Regions from separate parts of the Homo sapiens genome. Here regions 1, 2 and 3 are each linked to region 4. Evidence: promoter capture Hi-C in human tissues and cell types (Jung and others, 2019). All regions are on one chromosome and are shown on one strand. Each heading gives the region's core, a stretch centred on a gene start or on the middle of the fragment in contact. The rest is flanking DNA. Distances are from core to core; before and after follow the strand shown. Region 1 has its middle 330 kb from the start of CCDC85A. Region 2 has its middle 290 kb from the start of CCDC85A. Region 3 overlaps LOC101927213 (a long non-coding RNA gene). Region 4 holds the start of CCDC85A (coiled-coil domain containing 85A).

The links. The method cuts DNA at HindIII sites, captures the fragments that hold promoters and counts their contacts. A contact is called where the count stands out against the background at its distance.
Region 1: a fragment that was not itself captured here is called in contact with the fragment with the promoter of CCDC85A in region 4 in 1 of the 25 tissues and cell types used here (lymphoblastoid cells).
Region 2: a contact is called between a fragment that was not itself captured here and the fragment with the promoter of CCDC85A in region 4, in 1 of the 25 tissues and cell types used here (H1 embryonic stem cells).
Region 3: a contact is called between a fragment that was not itself captured here and the fragment with the promoter of CCDC85A in region 4, in 1 of the 25 tissues and cell types used here (thymus).

Annotation. Positions count from the first base shown.
Region 1 is chr2:56,508,493-56,516,031 of GRCh38, forward strand. No RefSeq gene overlaps it. Among named protein-coding and RNA genes, the nearest start is that of CCDC85A, 330 kb to the left of the region's middle. The HindIII fragment of the contact is 7,618 bases long and covers 1-5,629 here.
Region 2 is chr2:56,474,142-56,481,686 of GRCh38, forward strand. No RefSeq gene overlaps it. Among named protein-coding and RNA genes, the nearest start is that of CCDC85A, 290 kb to the left of the region's middle. The HindIII fragment of the contact is 5,789 bases long and covers 108-5,896 here.
Region 3 is chr2:56,599,062-56,605,864 of GRCh38, forward strand. The region is part of intron 4 of LOC101927213 (a long non-coding RNA gene); the gene reads left to right. Among named protein-coding and RNA genes, the nearest start is that of CCDC85A, 420 kb to the left of the region's middle. The HindIII fragment of the contact is 4,704 bases long and covers 765-5,468 here.
Region 4 is chr2:56,181,189-56,188,809 of GRCh38, forward strand. It overlaps CCDC85A (coiled-coil domain containing 85A), which reads left to right and starts at 2,802. Exons shown (of 6, transcript NM_001080433.2): 1 at 2,802-3,712. The coding sequence starts at 3,437. It overlaps LOC100129434 (a long non-coding RNA gene), which reads right to left and starts at 4,582. Exons shown (of 3, transcript NR_125368.1): 1 at 4,510-4,582. RefSeq lists a silencer at 2,472-2,801. The HindIII fragment of the contact is 12,191 bases long and covers 1-7,621 here.

The DNA.
Region 1 (7,539 bases), core at 571-3,070, 330 kb after region 4:
AGCCATTTGAGCAGCTAAGATTTGATCTCTGTTGTTAGCAAGTTGGACATGTGGCATTAGCAGTAGTTAGATCAGTCTTAGTGAGTGGGAGCTCATGCTGCTGGCCCATGCATAGCCTCTATCCTTGCCACTATACTACTCAACTCATGTATCTATAGTGCAACCATGAGGTGGTCAATGACAGGCTCCTAACCCCAGCAGCAACAATCCAGTTTCATAGTCTTTATAATTATTATCTTTCATATTTCTTAAAGCTGAAGATACCACACCCATAAGTGTAGTCACTTCCACCACTATCCTCTCTCTGTTCATGCTCAGCGAAAGTTTTAATACTTGTCCCAACACTCCAGGTTAGGAGCTGTCAGTATTTCACTTACCACCAGTGATGAACTTTTCATGGTTGATTGGTCGGTAGGTGATTCAGCAGCAAAATGTCATTTTATAGTTGTTTTCCTTGAATCACTCCTGGCACCAATTGTTACAGAATGGATTCCCCTAAAAAACAGAGGCTGAGAAGGAGATCTGCATGCAGAAACTTTATAAGTGTATGTTCCTGGGGTCAATACCCATTTTGGGTTGAAGGAAAAAAGATTGTGTAGAGAGAAGATAAAATGAGAGGCCTTGCATAAAGGTCCCAGGTGATTTCAGAGGGAGCTCTGGAGCTGTGATGGCCCTTTAGTTGAGCCATGATGAGGGTCTGGACCTATATACATCTAAACAGGTTGGCCATTGAATGTCAACTGCCCTTAAGACGGAGGCAACTTTAGAGGCCAGGCATGGTGGTCCACACCTGTAATTCCAGCAATTTGGGAGGCTGATATGGGAGGATTGCTTGAACCCAGGAGTTCAAGACCAACCCAGAAAACATAAGACTCTATCTCTATAAATAAAGATAAAAATAAAATAAAATAATTAGCTAGGCTTGGTGGCACATGCCTGTAGTTCTAGCTACTGGGGAGGCTGAAGTGGGAGGATCACTAGTCCAGGAGTTTGAGGCTACAGTGAGCCATAATCATGCCATTGCACTCCAGCATAGGCAACATAGCAAGACTCCATCTCTAAAAAACAAAAAATTAGCTGGGCGTGGTGGAGTGTGCCTGTGGTCTTGGCTACTCAGTAGGCTGAGGTTGGGGGATTGTTTGAACCTGGGAGGTTGAGGCTGAAGTGAGCTGTGATCACACCACTGCACTTCTGGGTGAGAGAGCAAGACTATGTCTTAAAAGAAAAAAGAAGGAAGCAACTTTAGTCTCCCAATAGCTGGAGGTGATGGAAAAAGGAGCAGTGTTTCAGTCCTGAAAGCGGATTAAGGGATGGGATATCTGGATGGAGCACCACGGCATGCACTATATTATTTATTGCATAAAATTTGCAAAAGGCAAAAAGTGTAAAAAGAAAGATAAATGTGACTCATAATACCATCACCTAGATTTAACTGCTGTTAGTATTTTGATATATTTTCTTCCCTCCTTTTTCCTAGGTATCTATATTTCCTGCATATTTGGAAGCATACCCAAAATATTTCACATATTACTGCATCACTTAACATAATTTACGTAATTCTTCATATTATTGAAAATAAATGTCATATCCTTAATTTTAGAGGCTCTAAATATTTCAACTTGTTGATGTACCTTCACCTAACAATTTCTATATTATAAGTTGGGATCTCCTATATTTTATGAATATAAATAATAGCGGTATAAATTTAAACTGTTGGTCCTTGATCTAAACATATCTCAAAGAGTTCTCTTCTTTCTTGTGAACTAAAAAGTAAATCTTCATCAGAAAGATTCTCTCAACGTTCCCTTCCTGAAATGCTGGGATTTTTTTGTTGTGATGGGGAAAAGAAATAACAGCTGGTCATTTTCTGATTTTCTTGTGTTGTTACTTCAATTCTGCCCCTCACCAGAGGGGCAGATCACCAGGTATGTGATTTCAGGTTACTCAGTTAAGTCCTCCGACCCTAAGATCTTACATCAGTAAGTGTATAATTCCTGCCATTCTCCCTCACAAATTTATTGTGAAAAACCCACACACTCTCCTAACATGGAAGGGATTGTTTTGTAGTGATGATGATCCTGTCTAGGGGTAGGAGAATAGTGTGATGGGCAGAACTAGAAAAATAACAAAACAAAACCTGTCCTTGTTTTTGTGAACTGTATTCCAATTTGCCTAGTGTCACATTTTCACAGACAAATGAAGAAAATGAGACTCATTAGCTTTGTTTCAAAACAGACAGGGGCTGTGCTTGCATAGCAACCAGCAGCAAGATGGAGAAGAGCAGGGTTCAGCTGACAGTCCAGATGCTTGCTGATTCTCAGGATGCAAACAAAGCATCTGGGTGGTTGACTGAATCTCCCATTCACCATCACGGTGCTTGGTCTCATGTAGACAGTATTGCCAGTTGGTGAGACGGAAGTAGATCATCCATATGGACAGAAATACATAGATTTATATGGATCCCAGTCCAGTATGTTTGAATGTACAAATGTCTCTCTTTGTACCCACATAAGTGGGAATATTAGGCAGGGGCAGCCGTAAAGACTGTAGAGATGTAAATGATGACAGAATAAATAGTCTTCTATCCTACTACAGATAAGCAAAGGGAAGCTTTTTAAAATAGAGTGTTAGGCTGGGCACAGTGGCTCACGCCTGTAATCCCAGCACTTTGGGAGGCTGAGGCTGGTGGATCACCTGAGCCCAGGAGTTTAAGACCAGCCTGGACAACAAGGTGAAACCCCATCTCTACTAAAAGTACAAAAGAATTGGCTGACTGTGGTGGTGTGCATCTGTAGTCCCAGCTACTTGGGAGGCTGAGGTAGGAGGATTACCTGAGCCCGGGAAGCAGAGGCTGAAGTGAGCCGAGATTACGCCACTGCACTCCAGCCTGGGCGAGAGAAGGAGATCCTGTCTCAAACAAAACAAAACAACACCAAAGAGTATTTTATGTACTATCCCAGGTTGGTGTGTGTTTACTTCCTTTATCTTATGCCTTTTCAAATTGGGACCTTTCCAGAAGGCATAAATCATTGTAATTAGTAGGAGGAGATTCCATAGATCCGGGCTTCTTTTCATGTATCTAAGAATGACAAGGCTGGAGACCCTTCAGAATGTGATGCCAATGAGTTAGAAACCCTAGGCCCTAACCTGAGTCAATGCATCCAGATTCCAGATTAAGATGGGATGTTCAGGGGATTTGAGTGTCTCATCTACCCCCCATCTCCAACCAGGCATAGAGGGGAGGAGAGCCTATTAGTTTTCTAGAGGGAGGAAGAAATTAGCTTTCTCAGTTCCTCATTCTTCTCCCTTCTGCTCCTTTACTTCTGTAGCCTTGTAGGAACTTTGGAAATGTGATTGGTTATTTTTAAAATGTATTTATCCAGGGTTATGATTAATCAGACATTCACCAGGAAATCTATCTTTTCTTTTGAGGTTTTTTCATTGACTCTGTATTTGTTATAACTAGAAATTATATAACACACATGTAATAACCTAAAACACGATATAATATTATCCTAAGTAGTATTTGTTCGTCATTCAGTATGTGCTTCTATATGTATTAGGCACCCAAGAGCCAACAGAGTATGAGGGGAAATAGCTCCTGGTACCTGATGTCTCCTTATCTCTCATTCACACCTCAACCCCCTGAAATATGACTCCTGCTCCTACAAGTTAATTGAAATGTCTCTTGCCAAAGTCAATGATGACCTCTGTTGATAAATTCAGTAGAGAGTTAGCTTTTATCTTATTTGACCTCTCAGCAGCAATGCGACAAGGCTGACTAGTTTCTCCTTGAAAAAGCCCCTTCCCAGGCTCCTGGGATACCATACTGCCTGGCTTTCCTACCACTTCTCTCTGGTACCTCTTTCTTTGATCCTTAGCATGTTTCTCCCTCCTCTGCTAATCCTTCCAATGTTGTTGTTTCTCAGCATACTGCTCTAGTCTCCCTCTTCCTCTCCTGTTTGTATTCTCCTTTTCTATCCTGTTCTCACTTCACCCAGCCTCCCTGAGTAAACAAAACCATCCCAACATGTCTGCAGTCCCTAGTTTCATATATGCTATATAGCTCCTTATACATCTGATGTTTAAAATTTTGTTTTCATCTGAATCTTCACACCTGGACACTAGCCCATTTAGCAAATGACCACTTGTAGATCTTGATTTTGTTGTCTCACAGGTGCTTGTATTTTACTCTAATCAAAGAAAAATTCATCCTCTTCTCCCACAGATTTGACTGTCATCCATTTTGCCTTTCTCACTGAATGGTACAAATGTGCAACTCACAGTGTAAGTCAGAAATATGAGTGGCATGGTTAAAGTGAATTTGAGTCACATACGGGTATTTGTTTCTATCTTGTGTTTCTGTTTTGTTTTGTTTGTTTATTGAATCCTCCCAGTGGCAACAAACCTCAGATTGAATTCCTTGCCTCCTGTGAATAAAAAAAGCATCTCCTGCCTAGGGAGTGCTGTTCTTTTCTGTGCTTCTGTTGGCTGATCATTGTCTTCAGATGCAGGGCAGCAGGATGTCATTTCTAGTTAGGATTGTGCCAGGAGGTCTCCCCGCTGTGGGAATAAAGCCAAGGGCCCCTCCTGCAAAGGTACACAGTAAGACAGCCAAGATGAGCTAGGAACTGGAATTTTAATTTTCAGTGTTGGTGGTACAGAGATGTGGATGAGGGATTGTTTTAGCATAAGAAATTAAATGCCTGTCAACATAGTCTGCAGAATTAACATAGAAAAAAATCATTTCCAGCATTTTTCAGGGCTTAGATTCAATGAGTAGTTATTGGCATCATTATTTAGTAGGAGGATTTCTATCAACAGACTTGATATATCTCTGCATCCTAATTTCAATGTATTTTTTTTCCTGTTAGCAAGAAGAATGTTATTATCTGTTAGATTTGGTGGTGGAAGCAAAGCAGAAGGAAGCAGAGAATATGAAATTGTGAACTCAAGCAGTAACAATATTTAGAAAAGGAAACAATCCCAGGAGAAAGAATTGGATAAACTTGATAGGTTTTCTAATTTCTAAATGTTCTTACATATCTAACCAATTTCATGTGCTCTCTGCCATGTCTATGGTATACCTTAAAAATCAATTTAGCCCTTCAGGAAACTGGGTTGGCATGCTTTAGCACAATATTTTTACCAGATTTAGAAATGATCATTATCATTTTTCCTGGGGTTATGATGGGTCTGAAGAAGGTTAGTAGCAGAAGACAAAATAAGAAGCACTATTTTACAATGAGAGAATGACATTTAAATTGTTACCTTTCAAAAATTGTTTATTAGCCATGCTGACCTCTCTCTGAGGAAGTATTGGAACATGAAAAAATATGAAATTGTACACTTTTTTTCTCTTTTCTTAACCATTAGGAGATTGTAACAAGTTCCTACCCCTTAGCAATGGGTATTTTTGAGCCCCACTGGGTAACATGGTATTATAGGCATGAAGTATAAAAAACTTAGGATGTATGTTTACCAAGAAGATTTAAGTGATCATCCAAGCTCCCACATACTTCCTGAAAATTCTGCAGAGTGAGTGTTTTTAATCCAGTTCATGAGATACTGAACTAACATGGGAAAGGAGTCTGGAGGCTTTAAGCATGTTCATTTAGGTAGTAATTTCTATCTTATGTGTTATCAACCTTTATTAGAGTGGTTAATAAGCAGCTAAAATGAGACTGATTGTGGTTTAATTTTATTTAATTTCCCTAGTCTCCACTTAAATGAAAGGCATTAAGTAGCAGTAAGTTGACCAGGCCTCCCAGACAGAGGTGAGAGGAGAAAGAAGAAAAGCACATGTGCAGTTTCATCTGAGATTGGACAAACAGCTTCTGGGTTATAAGGAACTGACTCTACCTTTCTGGAGAAGCTGCAGTTTTATCTGGAGGATACAGGAAAGCACATAATGAGGCATAAATATCATATATTATTTTCTTTGCAGCATGAGATAGTTTTGACTTTTGTTCCTGTACTATTTAGGCTCAGGGTTAGGGCACTAGGGATGCAGACAGCTTGAGTGCAGGATGGAGCATCTGGGTCGTATGCACAGAGCATTAAGCAAACATCTCGTATGCCCACACTTTAGACAATTCTGACAGCTGCTGGAACAAACTATTTTGCAGTACAATTATACAAAACTAAAAGCAGTCAGCAATTGTATTTACCATTGTGAATTGTGTTCCAAATCTTATTCTCTCTGAGATACTCATTTTAATGAGCTAAAGATGTTCACCTAAAAAAATAAAAGGTTTTGTATATAAGCATCTTCAAAAATGTTTTTATACTGTCTGGCGCTGTTACTACATTTCTTCCTGAACATATTATGATTCCTAAGTTAGATCCTACTAGAGCCAAAACTCAGGTCTGTAATTTGTTGAAATGCTCTATGATAGTGAGTTCGTGAGACCTTACTGTCTTTATCCACTAGGAACAGACTGAATGTTAGGAATTGGGCCACACTGAATTTATGATGATGCTTATCTTCAGTCTTTCTAGAGAATATAGGCTACCCAATGAGTGAAATGACATGACAATAAAGCATGTTTATGTAGCTTAGCTTTCTGAAACCAAGGATGTTATAGGACATAGCAAGCTCAAAACATTGAAACTCTTAGCAAATTTGTTAATTTTAGATTTGTTTGGTTCCAATTAAATTTCTTTTTTTTCTGCCACCTTGCAGGAAGTGCTAATAACCAATGGTATGAATAACTCATGATAGAAGCTAGATGAGATATCATTCTCCTTATATGCTCATTGAATCTTTTGCATATTTGCATCATAGCCATAACTTTGTTGTCTTGTATTTTTGTGTGTCTTCCCTGCAGACCATGAGTTGACATAAGAAATCCTTCAGGCCAAATCCTGCCCACTTCTTTTTTTTAATAAATAAAGTTTTATTGATAACACAGCTCCATGCATCTGTTTATTTATTGCCTGTATCTTCTTTTGTGTGGCAATGGAAGAGTGGAGTAGTTGGAACAGAGACTATATGGCAAGCAAAGCCCAAGTATTTACTATCTGACCTTTAACAGAAAATGGTTGCAGAATCCAGCTGCAGCCTATGACCTCTTGAGAAGCTGGGATTCTTTTCTGTTGCCTAGGAATCCCAAATGCATTGCACAGTACTTGGCATATGGTAGTAGGCACTCAATGTCATTATTAAGAAGCATCAGCAGCATTGAGATTAGTCAAGTGCTTACTGTCTTTCAGGCACTCTGCTAAGTGTTAAGTGCCTTTAGCTGCATTATTTTATTGATTCTGCTCAACAACCCCATGAAGTAGGTATGCTATCATTGTCCTCATTTTATAGGTGAAGAAACTAAAACACAAACATGCTGAATGTTGTTTAAAAAGTCACACAGCTGGTATGTGGTGAAGAAGAAGAAAGGTGCTGAAAGATTTTAAAAAAGTCACATAGCTCGTATGTGGTTGACCAGTATTCATAGATTCAAATCTTAGTACCTACACTTACTAAGTGATTAATGAAAACTCAGTACAGTGAAGCAAAGAGCCTGAGTCCCCTACAAATTACAC
Region 2 (7,545 bases), core at 1,752-4,251, 290 kb after region 4:
ACCTCTTTCCTTCACAGCTACCCAGACCTAGGAGGTATTTCAGGGAAATTGGAGATGCATGCATGCTTAAAAAAATGGGCTTGTCCACTTGGCTCATGTCTGAAACTCCTCCAACTTCAAGGGAGAAGATGAAGTAGGAGGAGAAGAGGTCTTAGGGATGAGGGGAACTTGGAACGAGGACATTAGAGATGCTGGGAGCACAGGATTGCAGCATATTAACAATCTGGCTCACTTGCAGTTTTGTGCCATTGACAATTTATCCCTCAGATAGTGAACTGTATATTGATTTTTAAGTGGAGCTCTGTTTTAATAGCCATAGGAGAAAAGTCTCTGAAGAAAATAAATATTACCATGCCTTTTGTAGGTGTCAGAGAAGCTTATCTCAGTGACTTGTTTAGAGTGGAAATAAAGGTGCTTTCATTTTTATCAGAGTGAATTTTTATAAACCTAGTTAGTCACTTGCCTTGTGTTGACCTCAGCACCTAGCAATGATTCAAGTGAGTTGATTTCCCTCTCAACTCCTTCTTTTGTTACCTCTCCAAATAATGGGGGTGATATGAGAATAAATAAATAGCACTATAGGGAAAAATGCTATAAGCAGCTCTCACCTGTCAAACTTAAGATACGACTATATGCCACTAAGTCCATGCCACTTATTTAATCACTTTTAATAGGTATCTGAGCACATTGTAATGGCTTATCTGTGCCAATGGTGTAACTCGAGAGAATGAGTTAAAAATAGCACATGGGCAATTATGCAACCTTCACTGGACTGTGCATATTATCCTCAAATTGCCCTGACAGCATGCTGTCCTGGAACGATTCCAGAGAAGTCATTTCTTTGCACTCTCTGCCATCAGAACATCCCAGGGAAGTGTGATTTCAGGTTCTGGTAACATGATACTGCTACCGTTATACAAGGCTCAGAGCTAGTGGGACTAGAGATAAGGTAATCAAAAACAAATACAAAATGTACTTAATTCATTAAAAAGGTGAATCTTTCTAGAACATGCAGGGCTTTACTTTTACACTACTCAACTTTAAGGGAAAAGATACTAAAAACACTTACATCCATGTTATAGATGAATAATTGTGTCAAATGATTCGAATATTATGTTTCCAATTTCATAAATTCAGAGAAGGTCTTAAGCCTGGAGTAGAATGAACTCTGATATTCACTCCAATTTTTCAGACCAAGGAGCTAGAGGCCACAAATAGCTCCAAATTCTCTCTGGCTCAGTGAGCTGCTTGCATTTAATAAATGTTCAGTATTAAAAGCATCCAAATGTGTGCTGATCCGAAACAAACCCAACATGCCTGTTTCTAATCTTTACCTTTTGCTTCCCACAGTGACTTGAGTGATTTTTGCTTTCTTGGCTTTCTGTCTCAGACAAAGCTGGCACTGACCAAAAGCTCATCAGAACTGGTCAGAGCACAAGAAACTCTCCCAATTTTCCTCATTTTCTCAATCTGTGAAATGAGACACACATTTGAGTATAGGATTTTAACCACTGAAAGTCTGAAATGTCTAACTATCCCTTTTTTCTCTACCCTTAAAAATTCATGAGTGACTTTATGCCTCATCTATCTATAATGCATACATTTGAAGTTAATCCATTGATTCCTAAACACCTTTATTAAGGTACAATTTGCATACTGAAATATTCACCCTTTTTAAGTGTACAATTGAATGATTTCTTAGAGAGTTGTGCAATCATCCCCAGAATCTTAGAATAATTTTGTTGCTCCAAAAATATCTTCCATGCCTATTTGAATCATCTTGGCATCTTTCTAGAAAATCAGTTGAATATAAATGTAAGCATTAATTTCTGGACTCCCAATTTCATTTCTTTGATCTATATGTCTGTCCTCAAGTCAGTGCCACATTATCTTGATTCCAATAGCTTTGTAGCAGATGTTGAATTCAGGATGTGTGAATTCTTAAATTTCTTCATTTTCAAGATTGTTTTGGTTATTCTGGGTTCCTTGCAATTAGACATGAATATTAGGATTAGCTTGTCAATTTTTACAAAAAAAGAAAAAAAAAGCAGCTGAGATTTTGACTGGGATTGCATTTAACTATTTGGGGGAGTATTGTCATGTTAACATTGTCTTCCGATCTATGAACATTGGATGTTTTCCCATTTATTTAGGTCTTCAAATTCTTTCTATGATATTTTGTACTTTTCAGTGTACAAACATTATTCTTTTTTTATTAAATGTATTTCTAAATATTTTATTCTTTTTGAAGTTATTGTAAATGTAATTGATTTATAATATAATTATTAGATTGTTGCTAGTATATGGAAATACAGTTGTGTTTGTACATTGATTGCGTACCCTATAAACTTGCTCAACCAATTTATTAATTATAATTGTTGGAGAAGGTAGCTAGGCAGATATGAGCAGGGCAGGAGAAGCCCACCCCCACCAACCAGGAATTTCAGGTGGCCATCAGGTGATCGTTAGGTGCTTGTTAAACTGACTCACTAAAAAAAAATTGTTTGCAGCTGGCACCAGGGGAAGCACGCTTCCAATAATAGAAAACACCTGAAGCTGGTGATGGCTGCTTCCTGATAAGATTTCAGGAATTGGGCAAGCAGGCTTGAGCATGCACACCGAGAAGCAAAATGGCAGAGTTTAACTGGTATATGACCTTCCTCTGGAAACACTTGACTGGTAAGGGAAAAATGCCTCAAATGAACATGTGCACAACTTCAGTAGACACCTGCGCATGTGGCCCCTCCCTAGTTTTGGCAAGCCACTGTGCATGTAGACAGCCTGCCTAAGGAAAAATCAAGGGAGAAGAAATGCAGTGTATAAAAACCTTAAGTCAAGGGCCAAACAGCACACTTGGCTCGATCTCGAGTTACTCGCTTGGCCCCTTTCCAAGTGTACTTTACTTCTTTTCGTTCCTGTTCTAAAACTTTTTAATAGACTTTCACTCCTGCTCTAAAACTCACCTTGGTCTCTCACCCTGCCTTATGCCCCTCAGCATAATTCTTTCTTCTGAGGAGGCAAGAATCGAGTTGCTGCAGGCCTGGATAGATTTTTAAACAGCTAACGTAATGTTTTGTGGACTTCTTTTAATTTTCTATGTAGAAGATCATGTCATCTACAAAAAAGATAATTTCACTTCTTCCTTTCCAATTTTATGTATTATTCTGACCCAATTTCCCTGAGTATGACTTACAGTATAATGTTAGATAGAAATGGCAAGAGAGTGAACAGATTTGTCTTGTTCTTGATTATAAGGAGAAAGCTTTGTCTTTCACCATTAAGCATGGTGCTAGCTGTAGGTATTTTATAGATGTTCTTTACCAGGTTAAGGAAGTTTCCTTCTGTTTTTTTAAATGGTTTTCTTTTTAAATGAAGGTGTGTTGGGTTTTAACAAGGATTTTCCTGCATTTATGGAGATTATATGGTTTTTGTGTTTTATTCTATTGGTATGTTGTGTTACATAGATTGATGTTTTGATTTTGAATCAATCTTATATTCTTGGGATAAATCCCTCTTGGTTATGGTGGATATTCCTTTCTATATGTTTCTAAATTTAATTTACTAGTAATTTGCTGAAAAGTTTTGCTTTTATTTTCATAATGGTTATTAGTTTGTGGTTTTCTTTTATTTTAATGTCTTTTGTTTTGGTAATTCTGTCCTCATATGATGAGTTGAAAATTGTTCCTTCCTTTTCTATTTTTTGGAAGAGTTTATGAAGTATCTGTTTTAATTCCTCTTTATGTATTTGCAAGGGTTCACCAGTGAAACATTATGGGCCTGAGATTTTCATTGTGGTAAAGTTTTAAATTACAAATTTAACCTCTTAATTTGTTATTGGTCTATTCAGATTTTCTTTTTTATCCTGAGTTAATTTTGGTAGTTTCTGTTATTTCAGAAATTTGTCTATTTCATCTAAGTTATCAAATTTCTTGTTGTACAGTTTATAGTACTCCTTTTTAATCCTTTTTATTTCCATGAGATCAAAAATGACATCTTTCTTTCACTTCTGACTTTAGTAATATGCATTCTCTCTCTCTCTTATTAGTCAGTTTAGGTAAAGGTTTTTCAATTTTGCTGACCTTTTCAAAGATCTAACTTTTTGTTTCATTGATTTTTCTGTATTGTTTTTCTATTCTCTGTTTTATTTATTTGTTTGTTATTTCCTTTTTTTCTATTGCTTTGGGTTTAGTTGGTTCTTCTTTTTCAAGTTACTTAAGGTGGAAGTTTAGATTATTAATTGAAGTCTTTCTTCTTTTTGTAATACAGTATTGGTGTTTATAGCCATAAATTTCTCTCTGAGAATTGCTTTTGCTGCATTTCATAAGTTTGGTATATTGTGTTTCATTTTAATTCATTTCGAAACTTAACTAATTTCCCTTGTGATTTTTTTTCTGTGATCCATTAGTTATTTAGGCATTTGTTATTTTATTTCTATGTAATTTTGAATTTCACATCTTTTCTTGTTATTGATTTATAACTTTATTCTGTTGTTGTCAAATAACATAGTTTGTGTAATTGCAATTCTTTTAAATTTATGGAGATTTGCTTTATGGCCTAGCATATGATCAGTCTTGGAGAATGTTCCATGTGTGCTTAAGAAACATAAATTTTATGGCTTTTGGGTGGATGTCTACTATGTCTAGTTGCTTTAAAGAGCTGTTGAAGTTCTATATTTCCTTGCTGATCTTCTGAATAGTTGCTCTATCCATTATTGAAAGTAAGGTCTCCTATTATGATTGTTGAAACTTATATATTTTTTTTACATTCTGTTCAGGTTTGCTTCATGTATCTGAGGCTCTGTTGTTAGGTGTATATATGTTTATGATTGTTATGTCTTCCTGATGGATTGATCCTTTTTTATTATGACATTTTTTATTAACATTTTTTTAAAACTCTAATTTGTCTGATATTAGCATAGCTATTCCTGCTCTCTTTTGGTTGCTATTCACATGGCATATCTTTCCCATCATTTTGCTTTCAATTTACTTGTATTTTTGAATCTAAAATACGTTTGCTGTGGACAATACATGGTTGAATTTTAAAAAAATTATGTCTAATAATTTGTTGTTTTGATAGGATTAATTCTTTCAAATTTAATGTTATTGTTATGGTTTTATTTATGTCTGCCATTTTTGTTTTTGCTGTCTATATGTTTGTCATTTTAGTTTCTTTATTCTTTACTATCTTCTTTTGCATTAGCTGTATATTTTCTAGTGTAACATTTCAATTCCTTTAATGATATTTTAACCATGGTAGGCAAAATAATGATCCACAAATGATGCCCATGTCTGAATGCCCAGAACCTGTGAATATATTACCTAGCATGGCAAAAGGGGCTTTGCATGTGTGATTAAGAATTTTGAGATGGGGAGACTACCCTGTCTTATCTGAGTCACTCCAATGTAATCACAAGGCTAATTATAAGGGAAAGAGGGAGGCAGGAAAGTAAAAAAAAAAAAAAAAACATACTGCGAGTGAGATGTTAGAATGATGCATTTGCTGGCTTGAAAGGGGAGTGTAGTCTCTGAAAGCTAGAAAAGGCAAGAAAACAGATCTTCCTGCTAGAGCCTCCAAGGGGAACACAATTCTGTTTACTTCTTGATTTTACCCATTGAAACCTCTTCAGATTTATGACCTCCAAAACTGTAAGATCATAAATTTGTCTTGTTTTAAGCAATTAAGTTTGTGGCAATTTCTTAAAGCATCAATGAGAAACTAATATTGACATTTTTTGAGTTATTTTCTTAGTGCTTATTCTAGGACTTTCAATATACATCTTATCAGAATTAACTTCAGGTTTATACTACTCAATTCAAGTGAGATACAAAAGATTTTCTTCTGTATATCTCATTCCCTCTCATTCTTTTCTGCATGTTATTACTATTTTGCATATTATGTTTATGTATGCTAGAAACCCAACCCTACATTATTATGCTTATTATTTTATATAATTTTATTTTTAAAAGCTGGAAGAAGAATGAAGAGTGAATTAGTCTGTTCTTGCACTGCTATAGGGTGGCTCACGCCTGTAGTCCTAGCACTTTGGGAGGTCGAGGCTGGTGGATCACGAGGTCAGGAAATTGAGACCATCCTGGCTAACATGGTGTAACTCCGTCTCTACTAAAGATACAAAAAACTAGCTGGGCATGGTGGCGGGTGCCTCCACTAATTGCTATATGATTATTATTTTTGACAATACCCTTGGGCACTGCACGCAGTTTGATCCAATGTAAGTCTGGCTGTTTGTCAGGGGAAGAGTGTTGCCAATTTTTAAGGCTTGCTCTGACTCTTCCCTGGGCAGAACAACTAAACTATGGAGCACCAGCTGGGGTGGGGTGGTGGTGGAGATAAGAAACTTATTCTTTATTGCTTTCCCACCAGCATCCCCCCTATAAAGCAGGAACTGTGTCTATGTGTATATATGAGGAGGCAAGGGGACTGGTGCTGCCACCCAACTACTGCCACTGCCCAATATGGATCTTCAGTAGCTCAGACCTAAAAAGGATGGGTTCCACCAATATTCACTGATTGCCAAATCTACCTGGAATGGGTCTTCCAGCTGAGGAATCTAGGGGAGATGGGAGCAACCCTTTGGCTGTCAAGCCCACTGGAGCAGTTCTTTTACAATGCTGATCTGTTCAGGAAACTGAGTCTGTACTCTTCACCAGCTGGCCCACTTGGATACTCCCTGTGTAATGGGAATTGGGATTGGGGTGACAGATGCCATCTGGCTGCCACTACCTACTCAATATAGGCCTTCCACAGTAGGGAGTGTGGAAAATGGGATCTGCCAAAATTCAGCAGCTACCCAAACCACACAGAATAGCTCTTCTATGCTAGGGAGCTGGAAGAGATAAGAATGTCCCGTGGTTGCCGAACCCACTGAAATAATTCTTCTCAAGGCAGTTATATGGGGTCAGGTACAGTCCCTAGCTCAAATGCTGTACCTCCCAGTGTTCTTACCAAGTTTACAAACATTTTATTGAATAAATCCCTCTCAATTTGTTATAAGCCCATTGATCAACCTCCACAGAGTCTGAGTGACTGTCTTTGTTAGCTCTGGCCTGCTTAATATATGTTTTTCAGGGGAGGTGTTCCTCAAGCGCCTCAGAATGCCATTCTGGAAGCCAGGGTATTTTATTTTTTGATGCTATTGTGAGTGAAATTGTTTTCTTAACTTGCTTCTCATGTTCCTTGCTGGGATATAGAAATATATATACTCTCTTTTTAAAGTTTTAAGGCAAGACTTCCATAGTCTCACCACTTATTAGTAGCATGATCCTGCAGAGTTCAAGCTGAAGACATAAGGCCCCTCTTGCCTATGGTACCTTTTCACCTGGCATGTCTTTGGTATGTTTCAGAGAGGGAAGAAGAGTGAATTCAACATAAAGTGCTTTCTCTAGGACTTAAAGAATTCCTCTGTTGGGCTGCATATTAGTAAAAAGATCATTAGCTTGCCGGAAAGAGATAGCTACTAAAGCTAGCATGAGGGGAAAAATGACATTTAATAAAATTTAAAGGCAAGAAAGGGACAGCCACTAAGAA
Region 3 (6,803 bases), core at 1,867-4,366, 420 kb after region 4:
ATGATTGCCATTCTAACTCCTCTGAGATGGTATGTCATTGTGGTTTTGATTTGCATTTCTCTAATGAGCAGTGATGGTAAGCATTTTTCCATATGTCTTTTGGCTGCATAAGTGTCTTCTTATGAGAAGTGTCTGTTCATATCCTTTGCCCACTTTTTGATGGGGTTGCTTTTTTCTTGTAAATTCGTTTAAGTTATTTGTAGATTCTGGATATTAGCTCTTGTCAGATGGGTGGATTGCAAAGATTTTCTCCCATTCTGTAGGTTGCCTGTACACTCTTATGATAATTTCTTTTGCTGTGCAGAAACTCTTTGGTTTAATTAGCTCCCACTTGTCTATGTTGGCTTTTGTTGCCATTGCTTTTCGTGTTTTAGTCATGAAGTCTTTGCCCATGCCTATGTCCTGATTGGTATTGCCTGGGTTTTCTTCTAGGGTTTTTATGGTGTTAGGTCTTACATTTAAGTCTTTAATCCATCTTGAATTAATTTTTGTATATGGTGTAAGGAAGAGATCCAGTTTCAGCTTTCTACATATGACTAGCCAGTTTTCCCAGCACCATTTTTTAAATAGGGAATCCTTTGTTCATTGCTTGTTTTTGTCAGGTTTGTCAAAGATCAGATGGCTGTAGATGTGTGGTGTTATTTCTGAGGTCTTTCTTCTGTTCCATTGATCTATATATTTGTTTTGGTACTAGTACCATGCTGTTTTGGTTACTGTAGTCTTGTAGTATAGTTTGAAGTCAGGTAGCATGATGCCTCCACCTTTGTTCTTTTTGCTTAGGATTGTCTTGGCTTTGTGGGCTCTTATTTGGTTCCATATGAAGTTTAAAGTAGTTTTTTCTAATTGTGTGAAGAAAGTCAATGGTAGCTTGATGGGGATAGCATTGAGTATACAAATTAGGTTGAGCAATATGGCCATTTTCACAATACTGATTCTTCCTATCCATGAGAATGGAATGTTCTTCTATATGTTTGTGTCCTCTTTTATTTCATTGAGCAGTGATTTGTAGTTCTCTGTGAAGTGGTCCTTCACATCGCTTGTAAGTTGGATTCCCAGGTATTTTACTCTCTTTGTAGTAATTGTGAATGGGAGCTCACTCATGATTTGGCTCTCTATTATTGGTGTATAGGAATGCTTGTGATTTTTGCACATTTATTTTGTATCCTGAGGCTTTGCTGGAGTTGCTTATCAGCTTAAGGAGATACTGGGCTGAGATGATGGGGTTTTCTTTTTATTTATTTTTTTATTTATTTATATTATACTTTAAGTTTTAGGGTACATGTGCACAACGTGAAGGTTTGTTACATATATATACATGTGCCATGCTGGTGTGCTGCACCCATTAACTCGTCTTTTCACATTAGGTATATCTCCTAATGCTATCCTTTCCCCATCCCCCTACCCCATAACAGGCCCTGGTGTGTGATGTTCCCCTTCCTGTGTCCATGTGTTCTCATTGTTCAATTCCCACCTATGAGTGAAAACATGCTATGTTTGTTTTTTTGTCCTTGCAATAGTTTGCTGAGAATGATGGTTTCCAGCTTCATCCATGTCCCTACAAAGGACATGAACTCATCATTTTTTATGGCTGCATAGTATTCCATGGTGTATATGTGCCACATTTTCTTAATCCAGTCTATCATTGGTGGACATTTGGGTTGGTTCCAAGTCTTTGCTGTTGTGAGTAGTGCTGCGATAAACATACATGTGCATGTGTCTTTATAGCAGCATGATTTATAATCCTTTGCGTATATACCCAGTAATGGGATGGCTGGGTCAAATGGTATTTCTAGTTCTAGATCCCTGAGGAATCGCCACACTGACTTCCACAATGGTGGAACTACTTTACAGTCCCACCAGCAGTGTAAAAGTGTTCCTATTTCTCCACATCCTCTCCAGCACCTGTTGTTTCCTGACTTTTAAATGATCACCATTCCCACTGGTGTGAGATAGTATCTCATTGTGGTTTTGATTTGCATTTTTCTGATGGCCGGTGATGATGAGCATTTTTTCATATGTCTTTTAGCTGCACAAATGTCTTTTTTTGAGAAGTGTCTGTTCATATCCTTTGCCCACTTGTTGATGGGGTTGTTTGCTTTTTTCTTGCAAATTTGTTTGAGTTCATTGTATATTCTGGATATTAGCCCTTTTTCAGATGAGTAGATTGCAAAAATTTTCTCCCATTCTGTAGGTTGCCTGTTCACTCTGATGGTAGTTTCTTTTGCTGTGAAGAAGCTCTTTAGTTTAATTAGATGCCATTTGTCAATTTTGGCTTTTGTTGCCATTGCTTTTGGTGAAATTGAGGCAATAATTAATAGCTTACCAATCAAAAAAAGTCCTGGACCAGACGGATTCACAGCCAATTTCTACCAGAGGTACAAGGAGGAACTGGTACCATTCCTTCTGAAACTATTCCAATCAATAGAAAAGGAATCCTCCCTAACTCATTTTATGAGGGCAGCATCGTCCTGATACCAAATCCTGGCAGAGACACACAAAAAAAGAGGATTTTAGACCAATATCCCTGATGAACATCGATGCAAAAATCCTCAATAAAGTACTGGCAAACCAAATCCAGCAGCATATCGGACAGCTTATCCACCACGATCAAGTGGGCTTCATCCCCAGGATGCAAGGCTGGTTCAACATATGCAAATCAATAAATGTAATCCAGCATGTAAACAGAATCAACGACAAAAACCACATGATTATCTCACTAGACCTAGAAAAGGCCTTTGACAAAATTCAACAGCCCTTCATGCTAAAAACTCTCAATAAATTAGGTATTGATGGGAAGTATCTCAAAACAATAAGAGCTATTTATGACAAACCCACAGCCAATATCATACTGAATGGGCAAAAACTGGAAGCATTCCCTTTGAAAACTGGCACAAGACAGGGATGCCCTCTCTCACCACTCCTATTCAACATAGTGTTGGAAGTTCTGGCCAGGGCAATCAGGCAGGAGAAAGAAATAAAAGGTATTCAATTAAGAAAAGAGGAAGTCAAATTGTCCCTGTTTGCAGATGACATGATTGTATATTTAGAAAACCCCATCATCTCAGCCCCAAATCTCCTTAAGCTGATAAGCAACTTCAGCAAAGTCTCAGGATACAAAATCAATGTACAAAAATCACAAGCATTCTTATACACCAATAAGAGACAAACAGAGAGCCAAATCATGAGTGAACTCCCACTCAAAACTGCTTCAAAGAGAATAAAATACCTAGGAATCCAAGTTACAAGGGTTGTGAAGGACCTCTTCAAGGAGAACTACAAACCACTGCTCAGTGAAATAAAAGAGGATACAAACAAATGGAAGAGCATTCCATGCTCATGGGTAGGAAGAATCGGTATTGTGAAAATGGCCAAACTGCCCAAGGTAATTCATAGATTCAATGCCATCCCCATGAAGCTACCAATGACTTTCTTCACAGAATTGGAAAAAACTACTTTAAAGTTCATATGGAACCAAAAAAGAGACTGCATTGCCATGTCAATCCTAAGCCAAAAGAACAAAGCTGGAGGCATCACACTACCTGACTTCAAACTATACTACAAGGCTACAGTAACCAAAACAGCATGGTACTGGTACCAAATCAGAGATATAGACCAATGGAACAGAACAGAGCCCTCAGAAATAATGCCACATATCTACAACTATCTGATCTTTGACAAACCTGACAAAAACAAGCAATGGGGAAAGGATTCCCTATTCAATAAATGGTGCTGGGAAACCTGGCTAGCCATATGTAGAAAGCTGAAACTGGATCCCTTCCTTACACCTTATATGAAAATTAATTCAAGATGGATTAAAGACTTACATTTTAGACCTAAAACCATAAAAACCCTAGAAGAAAACCTAGGCAATACCATTCAGGACATAGGCATGGTCAAGTACTTCATGTCTAAGACAATGGGGTTTTCTATATATACAATCATGTCATCTGCAAACAGAGACAATTTGACTTCCTCTTTTCCTAACTGAATGCCCTTTATTTCTTTCTCTTGCCTGATTGCCCTGGCCAGAACTTACAATGCTATGTTGAAAAGGAGTGGTGAGAGAGGGCATCCGTGTCTTGTGCTGGTTTTCAAAGGGAATGCTTCCAGTTTTTGCCCATTCAGTAAGATATTGGCTGTGGGTTTGTCATAAATAGCTCTTATTATTTTGAGATACGTTCCATCAATACCTAGTTTATTGAGAGTTTTTAGCATGAAGGGCTGTTGAATTTTGTGGAATGCCTTTTCTGCATCTGTTGAGGTAATCATATGGTTTCTGTCTTTGGTTCTGTTTAGTGATGGATTACGTTTATTGATTTGCATACGTTGAACCAGCCCTGCATCCCAGGGATGTAGCCAACTTGATTGTTGTGGTTAAGCTTTTTGATGTGCTGCTGGATTTGGTTTGCCAGGAAGGCTATCAATTATTGCCTCAATTCCAGAGCCTGTTATTGGTCTATTCAGAGATTCAAATTTTTCATGGTTTAGTCTTGGGAAGGTGTATGTGTCCAGGAGTTTATCCATTTCTTCTAGATTTTCTAGTTTATTTGCATAGAGGTGTTTATATTATTCTCTGATGGTAGTTTGTATTTCTGTGGGATCGGTGGTGATATCCCCTTTATCATTTTTTATTGCATCTTTTTGATTCTTCTCTCTTTTCTTCTTTATTAGTGTTGCTAGTGGTCTATCTATTTTGTTAATCTTTTCAGAAAACCAGCTCCTGGACTCATTGATTTTTTGAAGGTTTTTTTGTGTCTCTATCTCCTTCATTTCTGCTCTTATCTTAATTATTTCTTGCCTTCTGCTAGCTCTTGATTTTGTTAGCTCTTGCTTCTCTTGTTCTTTTAATTGTGATGCTAGGGTGTCGATTTTAGATCTTTCCTGCTTTCTCTTGTGGGCATTTAGTGCTATAAATTTCCCTCTACACACTGCTTTAAATGTATCCCAGAGATTCTGGTACATTGTGTCTTTGTTCTCATTGGTTTCAAAGAACATCTTTATTTCTGCCTTCATTTTGTTATTTACCCAGTAGTCATTCTGGAGCAGGTTATTCAGTTTCCATGTAGTTGTGCAGTTTTGAGTGAGTGTCTTAATCCTGAGTTCTAATTTGATTGCATTGTGGTCTAAGAGACAGTTTGTTGTGATTTCTATTATTTACATTTGCTGAGAAGTGTTTTTCTACCAATTATGTGGTCAATTTTAGAATATGTGCAATGTGGTGCTGAGAAGAATGTATATTCTGTTGATTTGGGGTGCAGAGTTCTGTAGATGTCTGTTAGGTCTGCTTGGTCCAGAGCTGAATTCAAGTCCTGGATATCCTTGTTAACCTTCTGTCTTGTTGATCTGTCTAATATTGACAGTGGGGTGTTAAAGCCTCCCGTTATTATTGTGTGGGAGTCTAAGTTTCTTTGTATGTCTCTCAGGACTTGCTTTATGAATCTGGGTGCTCCTGTATTGGGTGCATATACATTTAGGATAGTTAGCTCTTCTTGTTGAATTGATCCTTTTACCATTATGTAATGGCCTTCTTTGTCTCTTTTGATCTTTGTTGGTTTAAAGTCTGTTTTATCAGAGACTAGGATTGCAACCCCTGCCTTTTTTTGTTTTCCATTTGCTTGGTAGATCTTCCTCCATCCCTTTATTTTGAGCCTATGTGCATCTTTGCACATGAGATGGGTTTCCTAAATACAGCACACCAATAGGTCTTGATTCTTTATCCAGTTTGTCAGTCTATGTATTTTAATTGGGACATTTAGCCCATTTACATTTAAGGTTAATATTGTTATGTTTGAATTTGATCCTGTCATTATAATGTTTGCTGGTTTTTTTGCCGGTTAACTGATGCAGTTTCTTCATAGCATCAATGGTCTTTACCATTTGGCATGTGTTTTGCAGTGGCTGGTACCTGTTGTTCCTTTCCATATTTAGTGCTTCCTTCAGGAGCTTTTGTAAGGCAGGCCTGGTGGTGATAAAATCTCTCAGCATTTGCTTGTCTGTAAAGGATTTTATTTCTCCTTCACTGATGAAGTTTAGTTTGTCTGGGTTTGAGATTCTGGGTTGAAAATTCTTCTCCTTAAGAATGTTGAATATTGGCCCCCACTGTCTTCTTGCTTGTATGGTTTCTGCCGAGAGATCTGCTGTTAGTCTGATGGGCTTCCCTTTGTGGGTAACCCCACCTTTCTCTCTGGCTGCCCTTAACATTTTTTCCTTCATTTCAACCTTGGTGAATCCGGCAATTATGTGTCTTAGGATTGCTCTTCTCAAGGAGTATCTTTGTATTTTCTGAATTTGAATGTTGGCCTCCCTTGCTAGGTTAGGGAAGTTCTCTTGGATAATATCCTGAAGAGTGTTTTCTAACTTGGTTCCATTCTCCCCATCACTTTCCAGTACACCAATCAAATGTATATTTCGTCTTTTCATATAGTCCCATATTTCTTGGAGGGTTTGTTCATTTCTTTCACTCTTTTTTCTCTAATCTTGTCTTGTCACTTTATTTTATTAATTTGATCTTCAGTCACTGATATCCTTTCTTCCACTTGATCAAATTGGGTAATGAAGCTTGTTCATGAGTAACAAAGTTCTCGTGTCGTGGTTTTCAGCTCCATTAGGTCATTTAAGGTCTTCCCTACACTGTTAATTCTAGTTAGCCATTCCTCTAACATTTTTTCAAGGTTTTTAGCGTCCTTGTGATGGGTTAGAACATGCTCCTTTAGCTCGGAGAAGTTTGTTATTACCAACCTTCTGAAGCCTACTTCTGTCAACTCGTCAAACTCATTCTCTGTCCAGCTTTGTTCAGTTGCTGG
Region 4 (7,621 bases), core at 1,552-4,051:
CGTCCCAGGCTCAAGCGATTCTCCTGCCTCAGCCTCCCGATAGCTGGGATTATAGGCACGCACCACCATGCCCAGCTAATTTTTGTATTTTTAGTAAAGATGGGGTTTCACCATATTGGCCAGGCTGGTCTTGAATTCCTGACCTCAAATGATCCACCTGCATCGGACGCCCAAAGTGCTGGGATTACAGTTATGAGCCACCGCCCCCGGCCACCAGGAAAAGTTTTTAAAGGGGCATGTGCCCCTTTGCAGTTGTTATTACCTTCTTCCTGCCTTACACGTAGCTGGATGGCTAGAGTTCCACCAACCATGTTATGGACACGAGGCAATCATCCCAAAGGGGACTGAGCTGAGAGAAGGAGCCTAAGATTTTGACGACCTCATGAAGATACCATACCAGCCCTCAGCTGCCTCTCTTTAGAATACCAGGTAGGTGAGAAAAAATAAATGACTTTTTTAAAGTGACTGTTTTTTGAGTTTCTGTTTTTAGCAGTCAAATGAAGCTCCTGACACCATACATGACCTTAGCAACATGAAGCAACATTATTCATTCATGCAGATAATTATTATTCTGAATCAATGACCAAAATTAGAAACATGAAAACCTTAAGGTGATCTAGCTCAACTGTAATCCACTGCTAGTGTATATAATTTGTGGAGACTTTTTTTTTTTTTTTGGCTTTCCTTCTTCCTTGTCTTCCCAACACAAGTCTAATTTTTCCTCTCAGCCATCTCTCTGATTTCTCATATCTATTTGGTGTTAACTGATCAGAGGGAGTTAGCAGAGAAGGGGGCTGGCTGTTTCATTTTAGAATACGACTCTTGAAGAACCCGTGATGGAGGAATAAACAGAAGTCCTGGTTCCTATTTCTAGACAAGAGGCTGCCCAATGTAATATGTAATATCAGTAATAGTAAGGTTGCATTTCTGTAGGGTGGCTCGATCAAGCGCTTCTTGTATACCATATCATTAGCTGCCCGAGGGCCAGTAAGGTCGGATGGTTTGTTCAAGGACAAGAACTAACAAGTAACAGAGATAGGACTTATCTTTTTCTGACCTTCACTTTCCCTTTCTGTGACAAAACTGGTCTTAGGAACTGTGTTGAGCAGAGCCTTCTGTGGGCGTGAGAGCGGCTTGGAGGTGTCAAAGAAAAATTGCATCCGATATAGTTAAACAGACAAGGGGGAATTATTCAAGGCTATTGCAATAGGGAAGAGAGAGAGGGAGGGAGAGGGGAACTAGTAGAAGACTAGTGGAGGAGATTAGGATGGGAAGTTGGTCAGTGTAATGAGGCCATTTGTGTTTCCTAATTGGAACTTATTAAAGTTAGGCTCCTCCTCTCCACAAACACTAGGAGATAGGGACCCTTTTTTCCTTGATGATTACATTTCAAAGGGATGCCTCACAGATCCCTGAGAAAGATCCCCAGGCTGTAAAACCCAGCAAGAGGCGGAGAGATTTACATGTCAAAGGGTCAGAGGAAACATTCACCAATGGAAGTTGGCTAAAGTAAATGCTCTGAGAAAAGGAAGGTCTGGGGCCTACAGTTAGGAAGAAACCTGTCTAAAGTTTAGTTAAGCTGAGGGGAATGTTAAGGCCATTTGGTCACCGTAAGCAGTACCACATTTCCTTGCCTCTCCCGGGAGCCAGGTCTCAGTGTCCCCAATAGGGGACACGCACTGACCGGCGGGTGAAGGGACTGATTTTGATTATCATCCTACCAGATAGAGATTATTCCCTCTGCACCCGGGTTAACTGAAACCCGGTGGGGGTAGATCCTTGCCATTTTCCGGCCCTGTACCCCACTGGAAATAACATGCGGTGGTCAAGGGCATCCACCTCTTTAGGCAAAAGCATGTTTTCAGCCCAGAGACGATTCCACCCAACTTTACAAGAGGATAGCCCAAAGATAGAAGCCAGGGACTCAGACTTCCTCCTTCCAGAAATAACCATCATAAAAAAGCCGACCCAGTAAACGCCTGGCAGCCTGCGGCATAGAAGAAAATGGAAATCTCCTTGGCTGGCATTTCAGCTTGCCTGAGGGGGCTTGCTTTGCTCCGAGGGGAGGTGACTGTGCTGACCTTAAAATCCAGGTTTCAGGAAGCAGGAGATGAAGGTATTTTATTTTCGCCTAAAGGCTTTGATATTTTTCAAATAAAAATTTAAAAGATCCAGTACCTTCTCCCGAAGCTTCTTCATAGAGTAGTGGATTTTTAGAAAACACAAAGGCCTAGGGGTGGGGCGAGAGTGGGGGGTGGGGATGGGTAGCCCCATAAGAGCAGTGCCCTGACGCCTCTTTTCGCCCTTTTCAGACCATTTGGATTTTCTTAAGCTGCCCCTTTCCCCAACCCCCGTTTTTGCCATTTGCCTCTCCTCCCATTCTCCAAAGTGCAAATAACTGGTTATCCCTCAGGTCCTGCTACCCCATCTTTCCTGATCCCCGATCCCTCCAAATACGAAGCACCTCGCATTTGGGTCAGCAGCTGTTTCCCCTGCCTGGTGACAAGGCCGGTGTGCAGAGGGCAGAGGAGGGAGCTTCTTCCGCCACACGGTGGCGCGCGCGAGCCTCCCAAAGACCGGGCGGCCACAGCTCCTCACCTTCTCCCCATTCCAGCCCCACCCGCCCGGGCGCAGAAAGAGCCGCGCCCCCAGCCCTCCCGGGCAGGACAGCCGGGAGCGCACCTCGAGGGCCCGGGCAGCGGTCGAGTGGCAGCTGCGTCCAGCCCATGCGGGAGCTGCTGCGGGTTACGGGTGGCCCCAGCTCCAGGCTCCTCCTCCAGCCGGTCCCCCACCCTCCACCCCTTCTCGACTCCGCTCTGCAAATCGAAGGCTTTCCGGAGCAGCCTAGGAGCGGCCGCGGGCGCAGCGAAGGCGGCAGGAGGAGCGCAGCAGCCTTCGGGCAGCCGCGGCGGCGTCGCTAGAGCAGCCGGGGAGGCGCCGCGGTGCCCGGCGCGCCCTCCAAGCTAGGAGAGGGGAGAAGCCGGGGGCTGCAGCTGGGCAAGGGGGAGGAAAGTGCGTGTGCGTGCACGCCTGTGTGCAGGGCAGAGAGTGCGGGGGGCGACAGTCTCGGCTTAGGGCGGAGGAGAGGGCAGGGGAACGGCGGTGCAGCTCCCCCGCTGTCCCCGAGGATTTCCCGCGGCAGCCCCGGGCTCCCCAGTGCCCCTCACCATGGACTTGCGCGGAGTTGGGACGGGCCTCGGCAGCAGCAAGCGGCTGGCTGCCGGGCCCTGGGGGAGCGCGGGCGCGCGCGCGGGGATGGCGAGGTAGGATGGCCACCCAGCGCGACCCCCGCCGCCCCAACCCAGCGGCCCCTGGGCGGTGCCGCTGACTCGCCGGAGCGCACAGGGGTGTGGGCGGAGGCGGCCTCGCCGCGCCCGCGCCTTCGGGAGTCGCCTCGCCTCTTCCACCCACTTGCACCTGCCACCCCGCGGATACCATGTCGAAGGCGGCCGGAGGCGCGGCGGCGGCTGCGGCGGCGGCGGAAAGTTGTTCCCCAGCCCCGGCCGGCTCGTCCGCGGCCCCGCCCGCGCCGGTGGAGGACCTGTCCAAAGTGTCGGACGAGGAGCTGCTGCAGTGGAGCAAGGAGGAGCTGATCCGCAGCCTGCGGCGCGCCGAGGCGGAGAAGGTGAGCGCGATGCTGGACCACAGCAACCTCATCCGCGAGGTGAACCGCCGCCTGCAGCTGCACCTCGGCGAGATCCGCGGCCTCAAGGTGAGCGCGGGCCAGGTGGGGAGGCGCGGCGCGGCTGGGAGCGGGGTGCCCCGAGGAGGAGGCGGGGCCAGGCAAACTTTCCCTCCCTCCCTCAACAGGTGACCCTCCCCTTCTCCCGGTCGGCACCCCCTACCCCCAGTCCCCAGCCCCTGTGTAACTTTTCCAAACTTCGGAGGCGTCTGCTCCCCTCCTCTCCCCAACACGGGGCGCTCCACTGTCTGGCTGTTCGGGGAGGCGCTGAGGACGCTGGAAAGCAGGGAGGGAGGTGAAGGGCACGCGAACCTTTCATTTCTTAGGGAGGCTGGAAAATCTGTGCCTGGGGAGCCGGGTTTCAGTCAGTTAGGCGGAAAGGCCAGTGAGGGGGTGAATCCAGGGGATCTTCGCCTTGGAGGGTCGGGAATGCGGCTGCTCTGGGCCAGCAGCTCTTGGGCGGGCAGAGGGCGAGGAAAGGGCGCCACTGCCAGGGAGAGCGGCTGGCGGGGCGCCCGGGAGAAGCAGCGGGCGCCACCCTCAGAGCAGTCTTGTGTCACCGGGTACATAGGAGTTCAAGCTCTGCCTTCACGTCTTCTCCCAATTCCTGTGCTTTCCCTCTCCCGGAGTTTGGAAGGCATCCCCTGGAGTTGCCTTACTCCCCTTCCCACTTAACCCCAGGTTGACTGGGGGAAAGAGGAGGAGCAAAGAGACTCAGTATGGAAGGAGCAGCATTTTGACAGAGTACCCCAAGTGTTGGTCAGTGATGGTTTCTTTCTGAGCCAGCCCCCCTGCCACCCTCTTCTAGGAAAAGAAGGGAAACGTACCCCAAGCCCACTAACTTTCTTTTCTCCTTGGAGAGCGCCGGGTCTGCGAGGAGTGTGCCTGCCCAGCTGCAGTACACTAGTGGCCGGGAACCGCCCTGCTGGCGAGCACCACAAACTTCCTCTCCTTCCAGCTAGCGCTGGTGCCTCCTGGTATTCCTTCCTCTCATTGTTCTGCTTTGTTTGTAGGAAGCCAGACACAAACGAAATCACTGCAGGGACTTCAGGGAGCAAATTCCCGAAGGCACAAGCTGTTCTTTTCCCCTTTCCACTCCTATCCCCACATATCAGACAGTAGATGCTGTTCCGGAATTGCCTCAGTGCTCCAGCTCTGGGATTCTGGGGCAAGAAAGAGTGGGAAGAGTGGAATGCTCAAGGCTCACCTATGTGCTGGGCCCAGTTCAGGTGGAGATGGCCGTCTCCCGAGGCCGAAAGTCATTGTCATATAGTCCCTAGAGTGGGTGCAGGTAGGAAGATTCCTCCAGTCAGAAAAATGCCAAGGCTTACTCTCTCCTGTGGTTGAATTCATTACTAACAGAGTGTTTATTAAGTGCCAGTCTCTTTGGGGAATAGAGGCAGGCTAGTGTAGTAGGAAGATGATCTCAGAGGTGGGTTTGAATTCTAGAAACCTCATTTGCCAGGAGGGTGAGCTTGGGTAATTACTTTCTCAGATCCTCCTTTTATTCACCAATACAATGCAATGATAATAACTTTCTGAGGGTGTTATGGCAATAAGTTATGATTATGTAGGGGAAGGTTTAATACTTGACTATAAAATGGTAGTTACTGTCATCAGGAAAGGACTTACAAATCTATGGCTGTGTGTCCCCAAGATTTTGGTTTCTTAGGCAGAGCTGGACAAGGGGGCATTAGTTTGTCATCCTCTAATTTGAGTTTCTTCCATGGTCTGAACAATAGTGTGATTTAGAAGAGTTGGAAGAGTTATTATTAAATGTTTTAATAGTATGGAGCATCAAAATAATAGCTCAGAAACACTTGAAAGTTCCTTTAGGTTATGTGGATTGACTGTGTGTGATGTCTGTGTGTGGGTAGGGGAGGGGAATGGTAGAGTGGGTTGGTAGAGTGCCTGGGCTTCATTCCAGTAGCTTCATGTAGAGAAGTAGCTATTAGGTCAGCTAAAGGCCCGTACACCCAAGTAAGAAAGTCTCCTTGTGATCTAGATTCATGACCTGGCATTAAAAGACTTGCCAGTCTACTTCCTTATCAAGTTCAGAAATGATGGGGGCAGGTTGCTTTCTGATGCAGCTTCTACTCTTCTCATGTCATCCCTGGGCTGCTGCAAGGAGCGGACTCCCAGGCTTCTGGCCCACCCTGGGTGTGCTGTGGTTTTACTCTTTGGAGAGGCCAGCCTTCTCCCTTCTCTTTTTTATTTTGGCTCAGAGCTTCCTTGGACACCATAGTAATCCATAAATGTGGTTGATTGAATAAATGATGGGTACATATATTTATTTTGGCTTAACTGGAAGAAAAGAAGTATTTTTTTTTGTTAAGGGCGTGGGGGAGCGTCTGAGGGCTTGGCATTCTCAGTTGAGAACTATAAATGTAGGGGAATTAAGACCATAATACATTTTCTTTTTTATGCCTCTTTCTATGAGCTGACTTTGAAATTGCATCTAAATATTTGTAAGGCTACCAGGTGTTATTGTAGCTGTGGACACAGGAGATGGCAGCATCAGTTCTTTACTTTTCAGGGGCCTGTGGCCGGGTCCTAGCACTGATTGACTTGTTTGTGTTTAGATATTTGGGAGGCAGGGCAGTGCAGGGGCCCTGAGAAGTGGAAAGATAAAGAATTTGGATTCTGATAATTTGGGCAGCTTTGGCCAATTGTTAAACTCTCTGTCTCTCGGTTTTCTCATCTGCTCATGGGGATTTTAATTCCACATGAGGTTTTATGAGGATGAAATATACCATAGATGAAGAAACCCCAGTGAAGTTAGATAGTTTTCTCAAGGTCACACAGACATAAAGTGTTCAAAATCGGCCTGCTTTCCTTTTCTTTTGGCTAGTTGACATTCTTTGCTTAGAATGTGTGGTCCTGGAAGGGGTGGATGAGGGAGATTCTAGTTAGGGTTATGTTGTAAGGAACTGGATTCCTGAGAACCATGTCTTTGGACTGCTGAGCATATACCAACACTTCAGGCTGCTCTGACCCAGTATCCCAGTTGGGGGCTGATTCGGGATGAATCTCTGTAGATTTGTTTTCTTCATTGCATTAATTTCCCTCCTTGGTTCCTAACCCAACCACCGACCCGCCCACCACCCTGCTCTGCAGTGAAGCAAAATAACAAATTAAAACAATTATTTAACTGTAGATACAGTACTTGATAGTCTTCAGGCATAAGATTGAAATTTTGGTTGGTGTGCTACGAAGTGGACTTAACCTTTTAAAAGTCCACTTAGACACTTGGATAATTTCTGGTGGCCGGTGGCAATGTTAAAAGGACACCTAGTGTTTTGCAAAAGAAAGCCCAAGTCTTAGTGAGGCAGATTTGAAGAAGCTGGATCACAAGGTTATTATCAAGCTGGCTGCTTAGCTGTTCATCAGAAGGCAAAGGAAATAGCTCAGAACTGAATAGTAAATAATATTCTCAAGAAAACTAATAATAGAAAGAGGGAACTGTGATATAGAAATGGGAGTGGGCCAATACTCACTCCTATCTACTCCATCTGGAGTGCTGAGAAGTGTATGTTTCACTCCTTTTGGAAAAGGCATTAGCTCCGTGAAGCCGAGGGTAGCACCAGTCCTGTTTACTTTCCAGCTCTAGAGAAATCAGAAGTAGCTGTAGCATAGTCAAAGGGAAGTATTTTCCTATGAAAATTTGTTTAGATGAAAGAGAACATGACTTGAGCTTTCTATCAAATGCCAGGATTAAACTAAATGTTGAATAATTTTTGGAGCTTAGAAAGATTAATTTTCTTTGTTATTGTTTTCTCCAAATATCCACAGCTTCTGATTTCCTGTAAAGCATCAGTATCAAGGGATAGTTTATTTTCTTACTACTGTAGGCTCTGACATAGCTAGTGCTTGCTGAAAACAATAAGAAATTCTTCTCAGTAGCTATAGCTGTAGCCTGTTTTGGCCAGAGGCCTGGAG